4 separate regions of the Homo sapiens genome follow, and regions 1, 2 and 4 are each linked to region 3. Evidence: promoter capture Hi-C in 16 types of primary human blood cells and fetal thymus (Javierre and others, 2016). All regions are on one chromosome and are shown on one strand. The core of a region is centred on a gene start or on the middle of the fragment in contact, and the rest is flanking DNA. Distances in the headings are between cores, read along the strand shown.

What was found. Contacts are between HindIII fragments. The CHiCAGO score rates a contact against its expected background, and 5 or more counts as called.
Region 1: a fragment that was not itself captured here is called in contact with the fragment with the promoter of TNFAIP3 in region 3 in 1 of 17 cell types (M1 macrophages); the score reaches 5.5 in M1 macrophages.
Region 2: a fragment that was not itself captured here is called in contact with the fragment with the promoter of TNFAIP3 in region 3 in 2 of 17 cell types (M1 macrophages and naive CD8 T cells); the score reaches 5.5 in M1 macrophages.
Region 4: a contact is called between a fragment that was not itself captured here and the fragment with the promoter of TNFAIP3 in region 3, in 1 of 17 cell types (monocytes). The highest score is 6.6, in monocytes.

What each region holds. Positions count from the first base shown.
Region 1 is chr6:137,091,537-137,096,313 of GRCh38, reverse strand. No RefSeq gene overlaps it. Among named protein-coding and RNA genes, the nearest start is that of IL20RA, 49 kb to the right of the region's middle. RefSeq lists enhancers at 128-267, 1,675-1,924, 1,945-1,994. The HindIII fragment of the contact is 864 bases long and covers 1,639-2,502 here.
Region 2 is chr6:137,232,272-137,237,209 of GRCh38, reverse strand. No RefSeq gene overlaps it. Among named protein-coding and RNA genes, the nearest start is that of IFNGR1, 15 kb to the right of the region's middle. The HindIII fragment of the contact is 3,577 bases long and covers 1-3,162 here.
Region 3 is chr6:137,865,769-137,870,457 of GRCh38, reverse strand. It overlaps TNFAIP3 (TNF alpha induced protein 3), which reads right to left and starts at 3,199. Exons shown (of 9, transcript NM_001270508.2): 1 at 2,916-3,199. It overlaps WAKMAR2 (wound and keratinocyte migration associated lncRNA 2), which reads left to right and starts at 2,225. Exons shown (of 4, transcript NR_049793.1): 1 at 2,225-2,816; 2 at 3,574-3,875. RefSeq lists silencers at 2,653-2,752, 2,893-3,062, 3,303-3,442 and an enhancer at 3,523-3,662. The HindIII fragment of the contact is 5,781 bases long and covers 1-4,689 here.
Region 4 is chr6:137,153,854-137,158,332 of GRCh38, reverse strand. IL22RA2 (interleukin 22 receptor subunit alpha 2) reads left to right here. Exons shown (of 7, transcript NM_052962.3): 4 at 1,479-1,574; 5 at 3,214-3,392. Among named protein-coding and RNA genes, the nearest start is that of IL22RA2, 18 kb to the left of the region's middle. The HindIII fragment of the contact is 9,502 bases long and covers 1-4,479 here.

The sequences.
Region 1 (4,777 bases), core at 821-3,320, 770 kb after region 3:
GGTAGGTGGTGAGGGAGACAGTGAGGAAATGGAAGTTCTATCACCAAGAAAATTTCCTGGTGAGTGTGATATCAGGCAGTGAGAGAGTTTGAGAAGCAAAGAGCAGTGGTTTGCTTTTATTTTTTGGTTTTTGTTTTGTGGTGGTGGTGTGGGGTTTGTTTTTAGTGACAGGCTTTAAATCACAAAGAAACATTTCAAAAGTAAATGACATTTAACTTGAATAACTGGACAAATGATTCTTCTAACATCATCTGAAGAGAAGCTATTTACCTTCTGATGCATTGGTGAGGGGCCATATGGTGTTGTTATGCCATTTATGCATAGGAATTCCTGTTTTCATACTGAAGTATGTACACACACACATATATACAGTGTTAGTTCTACTGCTCTCTCATCAGTGGATTTCAGAGATATTTCCATTTAGTCTCATTGAAGGTCTGGTGTGGGAGGATATGAGAGAGGAAGTCACTGGGCCCATGGGAAACTGAGTTTGGGTGCAACCTCTGAAGCCAGAAGAAGGGGAAGCCACCAGTAACCTAGTTATCTCATCCAGGCAACCAGTGATGATTTACATGCACAGCTGTCCTCAGACAGCCCTGCTGCATGGCTGACAATTACAGGATGGTTGAAACCCTGCTCTCTGTGTCTAGTAAATATTATTTCTATTGTCATGTCAAAACACTAGGCCTTTTTTCAATTATTCAGCTTTTCTTTTACAATCATCGATTGTACTGTGGAAAAAACCTCAGGAGAAAACTCTATTATATACCAGCCAGAATCCTTTAACGAGTAATTTTGCACATTTACCATAAACTTAAACTTGAATCTTACACTCTTCAGTGTTTTGGGTTGCAAACAACAGTAGATTTTCTGGCTAACCTGAATTTGTTAGAAGGATATAAATAAGCTCCCAGCGTTGTTGGGAAAACTCAGCATACTTAGGCAGAAACGAAGGTAGGCAAAGCCCCGCCAACATCCTGCAGGGACCTGCTGATCCCGGGTGCTTGCTATTACGCCACTAGCCTACACCTGACATCACAAATAATATGCAAGTGGCTGAGCCTTTGAGATGCCCAGCCACGCTTTGGTCACATGACCATGCTCCAGCAGCCAGGGGTCAAAGAGTCGAAGAAAGATCGTCCCCCTTTGACTTCCATTGCGGCGAGGGACAAGCCCTGTCCCTCACCCATCTTCAGATTCTCCCCAAACAGGAAGGATACTGGGCATCCAGAAGCACAAAATGTTTAGGGCTTGGTGGTCGGTGCTTTAACTACATTTCCTCACTTAATTATGACAACAGCCGCGTCACTCCTGTCTTAAAGATGAGAAATCAAGGCTCGAAAAAGACAAGCAATTGCCCATCATGGTGAGATCTAAGATATTGAAGCCCCATTGCACACATCACAGAAATCTTACATTATGATTAATCTCACTCAAATGTTAGGTGTCTTTGAGTGTATTTCCTTAGAAAAGTTGTGATCTGAATGTGGTAACACTCTTGACCAAAACACAGGTTTCATTAAAAAACAAAACAAAACCATTTCTTCAAACACAGCCGTGTCATAATAAGAGTCTTTAAGAATAAGTTAGTGCCTGTCTATTCCATATTACAAGCTGAAAGCATAATTTCTTTAAGCTTAGCTGTCAATTTATCTGAAAATATGGAAGGAATAACATATTCTTAGTTTACAACAAGGAATTTATGGCTTAAAGATGCTTAGAGGGGACTGTTTTTTTGCTTCTGCGTAGAACCACAGCACGCTACTGACCTCCTGTGGCCATATTTCAAGGTACTGTCTTCTATTTAAAAGGAGCTTCTTCAAAGAGAACAGCAATTGCAGGAGAGGTCCCCCGGGTGTTTGATCCTGATGTGTCATCATTGAGAAACTAGTTGTTGTTCTACTCAAATGTGGAATTACTGAGCCAGTAAGTCCAACTGTGCTCTGCCCAAAAGCTACAGTCTTGTTCCTAATAATTTGCCCAAGTCTTTGCCCACAACATAACTTCTATATTTTTAAAAAATATTCACTGAGCACCTATTGGGTTTGGGGCATCTGACAAACACTTTACCTTGTCTCATTTAATCAATGCAACAACTATATTATTGCCATTTTATAGAGAAATTGAAGTTCAAGGAAGATCAGTAATTTTTCCCAAAATCAGAGGCACAAAATGGGATTTTGATCAAAGGATTCAATCCCCTTCCCCATCTTCAAGGTCTGTAATATGGTTTGGATACATGTCTCCACCCAAATCCCATGTCAAATTGTAATCCCCAGTGTTGGAAGTGGGGCCTGGTGACAGATGATTGGACAATTGGAGCGATTTCTTGTCAGTAGTTTCGCAGCATCCCCTTGGTGCTGTTCTCATGATAGTGAGTGAGTTCTCATGAGATCTGGTCATTTAAAAGTGTGCAGCACCTCCCCACTTCCTCTCTCTTGCTGCTGCTCCAGCCATGTAAGACTCCTGCTCTCCCTTTGCCTTTTACCACAATTGGAAGCTTCCTGAGGCCTCCCCAGAAGCAAAAGCCACCATGCTTTCTGCACAGCCTTGCAGAACCATGAGCCAATTAAACCTCTTTTCTTTATAAATTGCCCAGTTTCAGATAGTTCTTGATAGTAGTGCAAGCACAGACTAAAACAGTCTTCTAACATCACCCATGAAGGCTTCCGTGACTGCTTGGCACACAGAGATATCACCTCCTCAGGACTTTAGTACTTGGCTCATACTCCTTTATATTATTATTTTTATACGTGTAGTAAAAACCTTGGTCAAAGGTCAGATGGGAGGGGTGTTAGTGTGTAAATCTAGAACAAAAAATTCTCCCAGGGTCAAAATCTGCACATGTAGTTGTGAAAAATAATGATGGCTCACATTTACCAGCTGCTAGCTGTGAGCCAGAGATGTCTCGATGTGCTTAACATGTTCTAAATGACTGAGCATGTGGCTTCAAGGCTTAGCTGGTTACAGCGGTTGTCTAGGAAATGACTGAATCTTTTTTACACCAACTCTGCAATGTGGATGTTACTAATATCCCTGGTTTATAGATGAGAAGACTGAGATGTTAAATCTGTTGTTTTCAAAGGTTGAATTGTGTCTCCACAAAATTCATATGTTAAAGTTCTAACTCCCAGTACCCCAAATGCGGCCTTATTCAAAAATATGATGGTTGCAGATGTAATTAGTTAAGATGGGGTCTTATTGGAGTAGAGTGGGCCCTTAATCCAATATGACTGGTGTCCTTCAAAAAGAATGCTATGTGAAAACACAGACACACACACACAGTGATTATACCATGTAATGGCCAGACACGGTAGCTCATGCCTGTAATCCCAGCACTTTGGGAAGCCGAGCCAGGCAGATCACTTGAGGTCAGGAGTTTGAGACCAGCCCCACTAACATGGTGAAATGCTGTCTCTACTAAAAATACAAAAATTATCCGGGCATGGTGGTGGGTGCCTATAATCCCAGCTACTCGGGAGGCTGAGGCAGGAGAATCGCTTGTACCCGGGAGGCAGAAGTTGCAGTGAGCCGAGATTGCACTACTGCACTCCAGCCTGGGCGACAGAGAGAGACCCTGTCATACACACAAAAAAGACTGGAATTATGCTGCTGCAAGCCAAAGAATGCCAAAGATTGCTGGCAAACCACGAGAAGCTTGGAGTAAGGCCTGGAACAGAGTCTCCTTGGTGGCCCTCAGAAGGAATCAACCCTATTAACATCATGGTCTGACTTGCAGCCCGCAGATCTGTGAGACGACATATTTCTGCTGTTCTAAGCCACCCAACTTGTGGTGCTTTGTTACAGCAGCCCCAGGAAGGTACAGTGCTTGGCTAAGATCTCAGAGCCACCAGGTGGGGAAGCACAAAAGCAGACCCCAGCAGTATGGCATGAGAGCCAGTGCTCTTCCCTGCACTGCACAGGCTGGAGAGAAACAGGAGGAGGAAGGAGGTAAGTGATTGCAGAAATATCTCACATCCCTTGGGAGGGTGGCCAGTACCTAGAGCCAGGGGGAAGGGCTTTTATACAGAATCCCCACACTGCAGAAGCAGTCACTGTGTGTGTCCCAGTCTCCAGTTGTACTTCTTATCACCCAGGATTCCGGGTAGTCATACTGATATGATATTGAGCAACATACCATCTGCAGCAACAACAGGGGCAAGGGGAATGGGTGCCCATGCCTCCTTTGACCTTTCCATGAGCCCTGTCTTCCAGCTGTCACACACCCACAGCAATAAACAGGGTGCTCCAAAAAGGTTAGTGAGGTTTTTTAAGATTAATTGTTTTATTGGCATTTAATTGCTGTGTTAGTCTATTTGCATTGCTCGAGGAATACCTGAGGCTGTGTAATTTGCAAAGAAAAAAAGGTTTATTTGGTTCACAGTTCTGCAGGCTGTACAAGCATGGCACCAGCATCTGCTCCTGGTGAGGCCTCGGGGTGGTTCCAATCATCACAGAAGGCAAAGGGGGAGCATGCATGTCACATGGCAAGAGGGGAGCAGGAGAAACGGGGAGGAGGTGCCAGGCTGTTTTTAAACAACCAGATCTCATGTGAACTCATAGAGTGAGAACAGACTCATCACCATGAGGATGACACCAAGCCATTCATGAGGGATCCATCCCCATGATCCAAACACCTCCCACCAGGCCCCACCTCCAACATCGGGGGTCACATTTCAACATGAGAGGAAAAACATTTGGAGGAGAAAAGCAACCAAATTACATCCATTGCCATAAAATAAATTGTACATATTTACAGTGCACAATTTGATAACTT
Region 2 (4,938 bases), core at 125-2,624, 630 kb after region 3:
ATTTACTGCTGGCAGGAATTCAAAATGGTTTAGCCACTTTGGAAAATAGTTTGGCAGTTTCTTATAAAGTTAAACAAATTCGTGGCACATGACCCAGCAGTCCCACCCCTAGGTATTTGGCCCACATAAACTAAAACATGTGTCCACATACAGAAAAGTCTAAAAGTGAATGTTTACAGCAGCTTTATTCATAATCACCAACAACTGGAAACAACCCAAATGACCACCAACTGGTGAACAGATCGATCTTTTCAAAATGTTGTACATCCATAAAATGGAAGCCTGCTCTAGAATAAAAAAGAACTAAGTGTTGATGCACGCAACAACACAGATGCATCTCAAAAGCAGTATCCCAAGGGAAGGGGACGGAGACAAAAGGCTAAGTCCTGAATGATTCCATTTCTATGGCATTCAGGAAAAGGCTAATCTGTACAGATGGAAAACAGATAAGCGTTTACTAGGTGGTGGGTGGAGGTAGGTGACTGCAAAGGGACCTAAGGGAACTTTTTGTGAATTAACTTGATTGTGGTTGTACTTAGATGACTGTATAGGTTGTCAATGCCATAAAATGTATGTTGAAAGTGATGCTTTTGACTGCATGCAAATATAAATAATACCTCAATAAATCTGATTTTCAAAAGTAGTGGCAGGGCACGGTGGCTCACGCCTGTAATCCCAGCACTTTGGGAGGCTGAGGCAGGTGGATCACAAGATCAGGAGATCAAGACCATCCTGGCTAATATGGTGAAACCCTGTCTCTACTAAAAATACAAAAAAAAAATTAGCCAGGCGTGGTGGCGGGCACCTGTAGTCCCAGCTACTCGGGAGGCTGAGGCAAGAGAATGGTGTGAACCCGGGAGGCGGAGCTTGCAGTGAGCTGAGATCGTGCCACTGCACTACAGCCTGAGCGACTGAGCAAGACTCCATCTCAAAAAAAAAAAAAAAAAAAAAGAAGTAAGTTAGAATCATGAAAGCAAATGAGGGCAAGTACTTTGGTTTACTCACTGCTTTCTCCCTAGTACCTATAACAGTAACTGGCACATGAAAAGTATTTACAGTAAGGAAGGAAGATAGAAAATAGAGAAAGAAAAAGAAAAATTGAAGGAAAGAAGTGGCGGAGGGAAAGAGGGAAGCAAACAAAATATTTCTGTATTAAAATGTCAACCACTGCATTACTTGTTCGGCAACAATTTGGAAACCATCTAAATATTCACCCTAAAGGGAATAGGTAAGTACATGATGGTTCATTTATAAAATGACAATATTCAGCCTTTTAAAATGTTTATGAAGTCTTTAATGAAAAATAAAATGCTGAGTTAAGCATGTTGGCTCATGGTCTGTAATCCCAACTACTCAGGAGGCTGAGGCAAGAGGATCATTTGAGCCCAGGAGTTCAAGACCAGGCTGCACAAAATAGGGAGACTTCATCTCTAAAAAGAGTTTTAAAATTCAACTGGGCATGGGGGTACATGTCTGTAGTCCCAGGTACTTGGGAGGCTGAGGCAGAGGATTGGTTGAGCACAGGAGTTCGAGGCTGCAGTGAGCTATGATTGCACCACCGCACTCCAGTCTGGGTGACAGAGGCAGATCCGTCACTAAAAATAGTAACAGTAATAATAATTTTTTTAAAAATAGATGCTAAAATATAATATTAAGCCAAAATAAGACAGAATTCAAAGTTAAATACACAGCATACTTAGCTATGTAAAATTTTTAAACATTTCATATAAAAAGTATTCCAAAAAAATAGCCAAAAATTATAATAGTAGGTCTCTATAGGTGATGAGATTATGCTTACTGGTTTTCAGGTTTTTTCTCACACTTCCCTGTACGTCCAAGGCTTTGCACATGAGAATAAATTGAAAACAGTATTAAAACGTACTTTAAAAAAATTGATGTTCAGCAAAAGAATCTAGACACCAGACTACCTAAAGTAAGATTCCACTTATATAAGGTACAAAACAGGAAAAACCAAGCTCTGCTATTAGAAGTGAGGACAAGGGTTCCCTGTAGGCTAAAGAGAAAAGAATAGCAGGGAGTATAAAGAGGACTGGGAGCTGCTGGTTACTTAGATATTCTCAGTTTTTGAAAATGAATAATTATATTCACGTATGTGCACTTTTCTGTATGTATATTATAATTTGCTCAAAGTGATTTTAAGAAAAAGTATTATAGTTCTCATCCCAGAAAGAGGCAGAAGTGGATATTTTAAAGATCCTAGAAGTCTTCCTAAAACTATGCCCACAACTAACATTGCCCAATTAATTAATCTATTTTCTTGGTTGAGAACTTAATTCATACCAACAGAACAAGCAACCAAGTTTCTTTTAAAAAGTTCAGGACTTAATATACTAACCAGTCCTCCAGATTCTCACAGATCATACTAAATACCCATAAGAGCATTGAAAGGTTGGCAATGAAATGCCTACTAAACAGGTGTATGCATTAAAGAATTAGGCTACAGAGAGTGCGCCACTGCACTCCAGCGTGGGTGACAAAAAAAAAAAAGGCTATAAATATGACTCATCTACATGTTTCTACTGGTGAAAAAACTCACTGCCATTTCCTTCCTCTTAAGGAAGTAAGGACGCCTTTTATAGCCCTTTCTCGCAGGTGGATGGATGGCTGGAGGAGAAAGAGGACAGTCAAGCAGAAAAGGAAAAGAAAAGTGATGAACCTCAGTGGGGTTTGTCCAATTAAGCCACATCTGAATATAAGTAAGAAAGGATTCCTGAAAAAAAATACATGTGTACCAGCTACTTATACAGAGGTAGTCAATTAAGGACATAGTATAGAAAGCAAACTGCAATGTTAAGAAATAAAAAATAATTTTTAACCAATAGGTATTCTTAACAAAAAGTTGTTAAAATGAGTAAGAGATGTGGCAAATAGAAAATATAATAGGAAGAATGTGCATTCAAAGACAGAAGGGAAAATAAATACTTGGGTGTGCTTTCTTCCCTTCCTCCACTTCCTTGTTTTCACCATCAAGAAACACTGATCCTCCTCCTGAAAAGTCCCCGAGATATAAAACCTTGCTTCCTCAATCTTGAAGCAATGACTCATCTTTTTAGCACAGCTCTCCCCTTTCCTCTTCCCACGATTCAAAGTCCCTTCAATTGAAGGCAGACCAGATTATTTGGCAACTTTAGAAGACAAGCTTTCTTTTCAGGAGTCAGAGCCAAAGGGATTTCCCTGAGGAAAATACTAACAGGAAATGTGCACCAGTAGAAGGAGACTCAGAGACCTGGCCGAATCCTGCCTGCAGGACAGGCCAACTGAGTCACCTGGCTTGGGACTTTGGGAAGATCAGTTAGTTGGTCTGCCTCTCTGTGACCACATCTACAAAATGATAATAAATAACATTGGTGTGCTGCCTACTGCTTACACTTGTGGGAATCCAATAATACAATGGTTGTTTAAAAGTACTCCCTACATTGTACAGCACACAGTGATGAGTTCCTGTTACTATTATTACATCAGGAGTCAGTACTGATAGGTAGTCCACAGGCTCAGATCAGCTGCAGTGTGAAAGATGAACAGAAAAATTAGATACAGTTCCTAGACCAGGGCTCCCAAGCTGAATGCCTTTGATTTAAAATCAGGCTGTCTCCAAACCTTTTGCCCAGCACGGTGGCTCACGCCTGTAATCCCAGCACTTTGGGAGGGCAAGGCAGGCGGATGGCTTGATCTCAGGGTTTGAGACCAGCCCAGGCAATATGATGAAACCCCAGTTCTACAAAAAATAGAAAAATTAGCTGGGTGTGGTGGCGCATGCCTGTAGTTCCAGCTACTAGGGAAGCAGTGGTGGAGGATCGCTTGAAGCCAGGAGGTGGAGGTTGAAGTGAGCCAAGATTGCACCACTGCACGCCAGCCTGGGCAACAGAGTGAGATCACAAAATAAATAAAATAAAATAAAATAAAATCAGGCTGTGACAACTGTCACTCTCTACATGTAGCAGAAACTGATTCATGGGTAAAAATCAGAAGCTGTACAGTGGCTTCTTTAATCATGGACATGGCAACAGAAAAACAATAAAACAATTGCTCCGTAGCCCATGGTGCTCTAGTTCCTGCTTCCTTTCCCAAGGCCCAACCTTTGGAGTCCCTGATATAAATTGAAATGCAAATGAATTAAAAACAACATCAAAAATACTTTTAAAAAGCATGGCTGTTTAGCAAAAGAATCTAGACACAAAAAAGTGCATACGGTAAGATTCCACTTATCTCTGCCCCCACCTCCTTCCAACAAATTTCAATTTTGGACTAAAATAATTTACAATTTAAAAGCCTCATAGTGTTGCAAAGGAGGGCTAGACGGAGGACCTAGAACCTAGCACTTCCTGGTGCAGTCACTGTCAGGGTGAGGCACTGCAGTGACCTGCCGACTGAGGAAGACTTGGCCAAAAAGAACAGGCAATGGAGCTGAGCTGAGAATGAACGAGGATCAGATGGCAGGCTGTTGCAGTGACCAAGCAGAAGTGCCCAAGGCCAACACAGTGACCACAGATATGAGGACAAAACGACAAACATGAAGGACATTATGTGCTAGTCCAGCAGATTTTAATGCAAATCACATATATCATTTTACATTTTCTATTAGCCCCTTTAAATAAGTATAAAAGGTATAAAGAAATAGGTGAAAATAATTTTGGTCATATATTTTATTTAACTCAATATATTCAAATTATGATCATTCAATGTATAATTGATATTTTTTAAACATTAATGAAATGTTTTATTTTCATCTTTTGTACATACATCTTCCAGAGCCAGTATGTATTCAACACTTACAGTTCAACACCGTGAGGGCTAGCCACATCTCAAGTGCTCAGAAGACACATGTAGCTAGTGGTCATCATCGTGGACAAGGAAAGCCTAGACTCTTAAAATACCTTTAGATGTTTTAGTCTATCTCATTTCATAACCTACAAACTG
Region 3 (4,689 bases), core at 1,950-4,449:
GACTTCATATCAGAATAAGAAACAGACTAACAATAGGCTAGGCATGGTGGCTCATGCCTTTAATCCTGGCACTTTGGGAGGTCGAGGGAGGAGGATCACTTAAGCTCAGGAGTTTGAGACTAGCCTGGGCAACACGGTGAGACCTAGGTCTCTACGAAAACAAAAAATGAAAAACCGCAAAATAATAATAGAACAATAAATTCTATACTTCTAAGAACAGATATTGGAGCTCAATCATTTTAACTCAACTGCCAATGAAATTTTATCATCACCCTCCAGGTACCAACACAGAGGCAAGTCTGCCTGGCTTTTCACCCTGAAATCTTTAAGCATAATCAACTAGTAGAAGGAATGAAAATCTAGAAGTAGACAAGGAAAGAAGTTTCCACCAGGAGGCCACTCTGGCAAATGAAGGAGGAAAGGTGGCAAAGACCAGCATCTACAACCCATGCCAACAGCGCAGGATGATGCAAATTAACATGATGTAGGATCTCTCCAGTGTGGAACACTGTAAAAAGCCAGCTGTGATTTACTAGCCCTTAGTAGGGTGTCTGGCCACACTTCCTAATTTCCAAGAAGATGAAGAAGTTTTCAGAGCACAAAGACATTCCCTAGGAAATTTCACAGTGATTGTTAATTCCATTCCTGCAACATCTTATTTGCCAGGGCAACTTTCCAGTTAATAAAAATGTTAAACCTATGGAAGAGGGAGGAGAAGAAACCTAGATTTTAGGGTAGCTACTTCTGTGTGGGTCTAGACTCTCAACACCATTGATAAGGTGTTGAGATAATTCTTGTGGCCCACTCAAAGGAGAGAGGTTGGACTAGATGACCCATGGTTTCTCCTGAGGAGTTTTCTGGTGATAGTTTTAGATTGGGATTCTTAATCTGATTGCTGGGAAAGGCATAGTGGGAGTCATTCTCTGGATCAGATGGTGCTCTCTTTTGATGTCAGACGTCCTCTACAGGTGGAATTGGGCAAAATCATAGCAGGATAAAAATAACACATATACCTTTCCTTTGTGGCACAGCAAAAGTCTCTTTCACAATATCATCTATCCGTCCGTCCGTCCGTCCGTCCATCCATCCATCCATCCATCCATCCATCCATCCATCCATCTATCCATCCATCCACCCATCCACCCAACAAGCACTACCTGACCACCTACTGAAGGCCAATCACCATGCTTGATGATGGGACTAAAAGTCAAAGATGACCTTATTCCCTTCCCTGAAATTACACTACCACCTTAGTCTGCAGCTAAGGCAATGGAGTTACAGGTACTGCTCAGATCCCACAGCCATTCAGGGGCAAAGTTTTGCCTAGGAGCCAGGTCTTTCAATACCTGCCCCTTGCAATCCCACAACACCAAACCTGTGGCTACAGTGCCTGCCACAATCAGATGGAAAGAGATGGGCAGTAGGAAGATTTTAAACAAATGAGGTGTTATCTCTTTTTGCTTGCCTGACTCTTTTATTTTTCTCTTCTGAATCTAAAGATTTTTCACCAAAGATCTAAAATAGTGAGAGCTGTAAACCATAGGCAAGACATGCAAATGTCAATATCGGATACGCCAGTGTGATCTCATTGGTAGGGTTAGCCTTGCACAGCCTGTAAAACTGCCTCCTTAGAAATCAAAACCCACTGCCCAGATTTCCAGGTCTTGGACCACTCTACGCTTAAGATTAAAGAACAAATGTTTCAGATACGTTATAAGTGGCAAACAATGCAATATTACCCTTAACTTTTTTTTTTTTAACATTTGTTACCTCACTGTCTTATTTAAAGGTAGTTTCTCAACTTTTGTCACTAGGATTCCACAGAACTTCTCCGTTACTCAAACTCTTCTCCCCCTTGTTTTATTTTTCCACTCTGGGCAGACATTTTTGTCTGCATTGTGGAAATTGATGAATTATTTATCAACAAATACCTCATCCAAATTTGGGGATGTGCCTCTCCAAAAAATCAAAAATAGTACAAAGAATTGAAAAAAAAATCAAAGCAGCACCTTAAACAATGAGAATGAAGCATTCATTGGCTGCTCAATAATCTGGTACATTAAGGTTGCGGTCCAGAAGTCCCTTTAATTAACAATGGTTCTGCCAAAATGCTACCCTGAGACACTTGACCAGACTGGCTTTCCAAGGCAAGAAGATCTGAGGCGAGGAGAACCGAAAACAAAGCGGGCTCAAAAAGAGTTAAGCTCCTTCCTTACTTAATGCCACTGCTTTTCTGAGAGGCCAGGTGGCAGGATGTGGGACGACTCCAGCTGACAAAGACAGTCTAACCGTGGGGTAGGGGCTGGAGCAGGGGCCAGCGACCCACGTCTACATGCATACTTCTCTTACACTGCTGCTACTGGAAAAGCTGAACCCCGCGCCAGGACCCCAGCCCCCTGCAAGGACCCGTGAGCGTCTGGGAAGCTGTCTCTGGGACTGAAGCCCCCCACCTCCGCCGGGCTGGCGGCCACTGCGGTACCCTACGCCCCGTCGGGCTGGTCCTGCACAATTTGGGAAAAAGCCGCAGCGCTTCTGCAAGGTCTACGTGGCCATGAGCATGCAACGCTTGGCTCCAAAAAAGACACGAAAGGAGCAAAGCGCCAACGACCACCCGATCGGAGGGCCCGAGGGGCGCCTCTTCACCAGTCAGCTGCAGCTTAAGTTCCGTGCATTATCTGAAAGGAACAGCTGGCTGGAGGTATCCAGGGCTGTCACTCCAACCTCTGCAGCAGTGACCTCAACTCCCAGCACTTCAAAACCCAGACAGAAACGTCCAACAAACTCCCAGTCCAGGAGCGCTGCAAAACCAACGCCAGGTAGACGGTGCCAGCCCGGGGGTCGCTGCCCAACATGCACCCGCAGCCCTTGACTGCGGTGAGCCCGAGGCAGACGGCACGGGGAGGCGCGGCGGTTACCTCTCCGGGAGGCGCGGCGGTTACCTCTCCGGGAGGCGCGGCGGTTACCTCTCCGGGCCCCGCGATCCTTTCGCAAAGTCCCAAGTCCTGGTCAAGGCAGGAGCGCGCCGCAGGCGGGGGTCGGGGCAGGGACCGGGCGGAGGCGACGCTCCATGGACGCCTGGGGTCGGGCTCGCTCGCTGGCAGGGTCGGCTGGGGGTGTGATCTCTCTTGGCGGCCGCTCTCACCGCTCCGCCCCCGCGGGCTCCAAGCTCGCTTGGCCCGCCACGAAGACTGCAGACTGCGCAGTCTGCTTTGCCCCGTTTCAGTTGTATGCGGGTTGTAGGCCCGGGGATTTCCACGGGACTTTCCAAAGTCACGTGACTCTCTGGGTCGGGCTGCGAAGTGCGTCCAGCCGGCCGCCAGAGGGCGCAGGGGGCGAGGGGCGCGCGCGGCCTCCGCCCGACCGGGCCTGCGGGCCCCGCCCCGCCCCCTTTCCCTGCCCCGCCCCGCTGCCCCGCCCCGCCCGGTCCCTGCAGGCGCCCGGAGAAACTCCCTCGCCCCGCCCCGGGGTGTCCCCGCGTGAGTCACCTGGGCATTTCGGAAGCTGGGGTCACGTCACATCCATGTGGAAATCGCGGTGATGGGAACTGGAAATGAAATAGGTTCTTTTTCGCAGTTGTTTTTCTGCAGAAAATCATCAACTGTGGAGAAGAAGAAGGGAAATAAGAAAGAAAGAAAACCCTAAAAACCACCCTGGCGCCCGGGCCCGCAGGCCTCGGGCCGGCTCTGAAAAGTTTGGGCTGTGCACGTGATGAGCGCGTAGGCGGGAGCCCCAGACAGGACCCGGGCGGGCATTTCGAGAAAAAGCAGCGGTGACAGCCTTTGGTCCCCATCTCCATTGTTCCTGCCAGCTCTGGACCCCAGGCTGCATGAGACGTAGGTCCCAGGGGACACCCGACCCCGTGGCCCCAGTCTTAGGTAAACTTAGGAATCAGAACAACACTCACCCCTATGCCGCGCTTGCTCCATTTCCCCTTGTCTATTTCTGCTCACCAAGCATCCAGCTGACATTGCATTCAAAGCAGCATTTCAGCTTAGAAATCGCTTCTAGTCCATCACGGTGCTTGCCATGTGTCTCCAAGGCTTTATTAGGTGTGTTTTTAGTTGTCCTGATAATCAGTTCACCCCAGGGTGCTGATGGCTGATAATACTGGCGCTTCCCTCCCTACCCCCATGCGTTGCACAGGGAGGGTGAGTCATGTGGAGATGGATGCAGCCCCCTGGGCAGTGGGGGTGCAGGTGCTGTGCAGGGAGGAGTCTTAGGGCGTTTTTACTGTCTTACTGCCCTCTAAGCACGGGACCCTTTGGATCATTTACTAGATTGGCTAAACTAGAACCGGATGGAAATATTCTGTACTATGGTCCCCTTAATTACATTTAAGAATACTTGTCAGGCCATATATCACAGGTTTTTAATTAGAAAAGTATCCTCCTCTCGCCAGTAAGGACTTGCAGAGATGGGGGTGGGGGCTGGATGGAGGGTGGCACTTTTTTGGCAAAAAGAAGTTTGGAGCAGAGTGTCACTAGTGGCCTCTCTGAAGACTGGTCCTCGTCTTTTAAAACCGATGGCTGGAATTTCTTCCAGTTCCAAACCTCTTGTTATTTGTCCTCTCTTCTTGTTCACAAATGTGCTATCAACATTCAAACAATGGATAGTCAGCTATCCATTGTAAATGGACCTTGCTGGAGTCCAGGGCTAGCAGAAATGACAGGGTCTAAAATGACATTTATC
Region 4 (4,479 bases), core at 1,167-3,666, 710 kb after region 3:
CCTCCTTCAGCTGATAGAGATGGCACTGGGATAACATGTTCTAGAATGCAATGGAGTGTTAGGATCCGAGCTTTTTTTCAGTTTCAGAGGGGTTGAGAAGAAGCCAAGGTCAGGATAACAGTGACTTGTCTCCCCTGAAGGCTGCCTGGGGACTCAAAATGCATGATGGTATGCAGTGCACTGGGCAGATACTTCAGCCCTAGACCTGCACCAAGACCTCACAGGCTCAGCCTTTGCCTCCATGGAGGAGCCTGGCACATGGTGGGTTCTCAATATAGATTTGTCAGGCGAATGTTGGAAGCAACTTATTAGCACATAGCGAGTACTCAGTGAGTGAAACTATCGGTAGTTGAAAAAGAAGTTGTGGCAAACATGGTGGTGAGTGTGTAAAATAAGGTTTTAATTTAAAAGTCACTTTCAGAGTGGATTTACTATTTAGAAAATTCCTTTCAAAAACTAATGACTCTCGTAAGCATGAACACAAACTGGAACACGCTGCTGCATGTTCCTCTCGTGTGATCCTCAGGCTACTCCTGCTGGATCATTGCCAAAACTCAGATATAATCTACTCCTTTCCTGGCTCAAGGCTTGGAAACAAACACTCTTGACTTGAAAATGTCAGGTTTTTCCACTCATATATTTCTGGGGGGGTGAGGGGGGTTGAGGCTCAATCCTGTCTCCTGACAGTGAGACAGGAGATATTACAGTTTAGCTTTCATGGTTTTTCAATAGAAATTCAGGAAATCAAATGCAGCTATGGCCAAAGTAGCAATTTTTATCCCATAAATTCATCCATGTCTCTCCAGCATGGGGTAGGTCCTAGGTCAGATTTTCCTGCTAATTAATTTCGGAAGGAATATCCCCAGAAGCATCTCCATCTTTAACCGCTACGACTTCTCTCTACATATTTTATGTAGCGATTGTAAAATGTACAAATCTTTACAATGAAGGTTTCTCCATTACAAAAGTAGATTTGTGCATTGCTGGAGATACTTTCAGCATGCAGAAAGTAAAGATTGGTACTCTTTTTATGCTTCCCCTGGAGTAGTATAAATAGGTCAAAAGTGGACCTATTTGTGGTCCAAAGTACTAAGAAGATTAGAAACTGTTTTACCATGAATCTAATGAAGATTAAACTTCAGGACCCCAATGCAAGGATTTTATATTTATAAATCTTTTCCTAAAGAGGACTCCCAAGCTGCTATGGTTTGAGTTTGTCTCCACCAAAATTCATGTTGAAATTTGATCCTTAGTGTGGTGGTGTTGGAAGTAGGGCCTCGTAGGAGGTGTTTGGGTCATGGGGATGGAGCACTCATGAATGGCTTGGTACCATTATTGCTGCAGTTGAGTGAGTTCTCACTCTTGCAAGACTGAATTTGTCATGGAAATGTTTCTATGAGAGTGGTTGTTGTAAAGCCAGGATGCCCCTTGAGTTTGGCCTCTTCACACGATCTGTTTTCCCCATTGACCTTCTCTAGCATGTTCTCATGCAGCATGAAAAGCTCTCACCAGAAGCCAAGTGGATGCTGGCAGCACATTTCTTGTAACTTCCCAGGCTGCAGAACATTGGCTAAGTACACCTCTTTTCCTTATCAATTACCTAGCCTCAGGTGTTCTGTTATAGAAACATTAAATGGACCAAGATTGTATAAATTTCAGACCCCAGAATACCTGAATCCATTCCTGTCTCTAAGGGATTTTCAACAGCACAAGACAAATTTATAATTTTGAAAACTTTCACTTTGGTGTATCCAGTTCATGGGCTATAATACTGTTATATCCCTTGCGTTTAGAATAGGATAAACAATGAGATATTATTTTAAAAGAGAAGTCTGTCATTACAGCTAAGTTCAAGACTTATTATAAATAAATAATAATTTTAAAACATCAAATTATACTCAATATATGTTGTGGTTCTGCTTTAATTGTGATGGAATGAAACTGCTGTCACCATGTAGATTACCGAGTATAGATACCGTCTATCTTCCTTATTATGTGTCTAGAAAGCTAGATTTCAAGTCTTTCAATAAATATTTTGGGAAACCTTTCTCCCCAGACTCCAATTCCTTCTCTTTTCCCCACCATCACTTTGTTACATTGGTCTGATTTATGGCAGGTAAGGAAACAAAGCGTGAATCTTCCCTTTGACTATTACACCATCCTGTGGCCTCAGGCTGAGTCAACCACTCTGCCTCTTGCCTCACTACCTTTTTTCATGGGATTCCCTCCCCCTCTCCCAACCCCTAATTACAGGGCTCCATATATAGTCCTCAATAAAAGTTCCCGTCAATTTTCAATAAAGAGATTAATCATGTATGTTGGGTAGGCAACACCTGAGATGAAAAGTGGTAGCAACTTCTCAGAAGCAGCCACATTACTCAACAGCAAGCTGATGAGAAGTGGAGAAAAACCACAAACAGCCAAAACCACAGAGCATTAAGGATGTGGAGAGTGAGTATTCAAAAATGGAAGTCAGTCCACACACCAGAAAGAACATTTTGCCAAGTATTAAAAAAAAGGTTAAAACCCTTATGTTAGTGATACAGAAAGCGTCAGGGATGTTTATCTTCCAGCAAGACAGCACTTTAGGTAATGCTGTGGTTTCTATGTGTCCCCCAAAAGTTCATGTGTTGGAAACCTGATCCCCAGTGCAGCAATGTTGAGAGGTGGGACTTTGGGGAGATGATTGGGTCATGAGGATTCTGCCCCCATGAATGGATTCATCCATTGATGGATTAACGAATTAATGTGTTATTGAGGAAGTGGGCTAGTTATCAAAAAAGTTGGTCTGTTTTATATATATTTTATATTTTATATATATATGTATATATATGTATATGCCATCTCTCTTGAATCCCTGTGAAGTCCTCTGTCACCTTAAGTCTCTGCAGAGAGTCCCCACCAGCAAGAAGGCCCTCACCAGATGTGGCTCTTATGGCTCTTAGACATTAGACTTCCTAGCCTCCAAAACTGTAAGAAATAAATTCCTTTTCTTTATAAATTACCCAGTCTCGGGTATTCAGTTATAGCAACAGAAAATGGACTGAAACAGTTAATAAGAAGGAATTTTTTTAAAGATTCTGAAGAGGAGCCATAAGCTATCATGGTGGTATTGCTACTAGAATCAGGTATAAAAAATTATTAGTCTGAAAATACTGAAGACTCCTTGAGTGGAGAAAAGAAACTCAGATCTTTGCCTTTTCCCTGCTACAGATATGGACAGAGACAATGGAAAAATAAAGAAGACTGTTGGGGTACTCAAGAACTCTCTTGTGACCTTACCAGTGAAACCTCAGACATACAGGAACCTTATTACGGGAGGGTGAGGGCGGCCTCGGCTGGGAGCTACTCAGAATGGAGCATGACGCCGCGGTTCACTCCCTGGTGGGAAAGTGAGTTCCATGGAGTTTCTTTGCCCTTGTTCTTCCTGCTTTTGGACAGCCCTCCCGGAGCACGGCTAGTGACTAGGCCTTGTGCTTTGCTGAGGTCTCTACATCATTATCTCTTTTGGTCTAATTGTCAGAACAACTCTAGGAGATAGCTTTTATTATCCTAATTTTCTAGTCCAGAACATCAAGATGTAGAGGCTTTAGTCATTGCTCCAATCTCGCAATCTGTATTATCCAAGTCAGGGTTCAAATTTGCTATATCTGACTGCAGAGCCTCCACTCCATCAATTTGTCACCTTGTGTGTGTGTGTGTGTGTGTGTGTTTGTGTGTGACAGGGTCTCGCTTTGTCACCCAGGCTGGAGTGCAGTGGCACGATCTTGGCTCACTGCAACCTCTGCATCCCGGGTTCAAGCGATTCTCCGGCCTCTGCCTCCCGAGTAGCTAGGATTACAAGTGTGTGCCACCACCCTTGGCTAATTTTTGTATTTTTAGTAGAGACGGGGTTTCATCATATTGGCCAGGCTGGTTTCAAACTCCTGACCTCAGGTGATCTGCCCCCTTTGGCCTCCCAAAGTGCTGGGATTATGGGTGTGAGCCACCATGCCCAGCCCCTAAAAAAGTATTTTTAGACAGCAGAATTTGTCATAGTGCCTAGTCCTTCCCCAAACACGAGGGTTAAGTTCATGAAAATACTGATTACAGGAATTTTCTGTTGAGGAAATTAAGACTTTTAGTCACCTCCCCAAAAAGGCAGACCAAAAGTGCTTTCTCAGTATCCATCCTGAAGGATATTTATTCCTTTTTTAGTTTAGTCACAACCATAGAATAATATAATCTAAGACATAGGTGTTAAAATTAACCATTACCAACAGACATTGGATAAAATAGTAGAGAGAGAGAGAGAAGGGGTTTAATGTATAGATATAAAGATGTGCATAAATAGAACAAGAAAAAAAAAAGATATTTACCACAGTCCTCATAATTGCAACAAGTCAACTAGTCATGAAGCTGTAGTTAATATTTATGACTTCTTCCTTCATTATAAACTCAACATTCACTTTCTTTCCAGCCAGCACTTCAGCTCTTTAT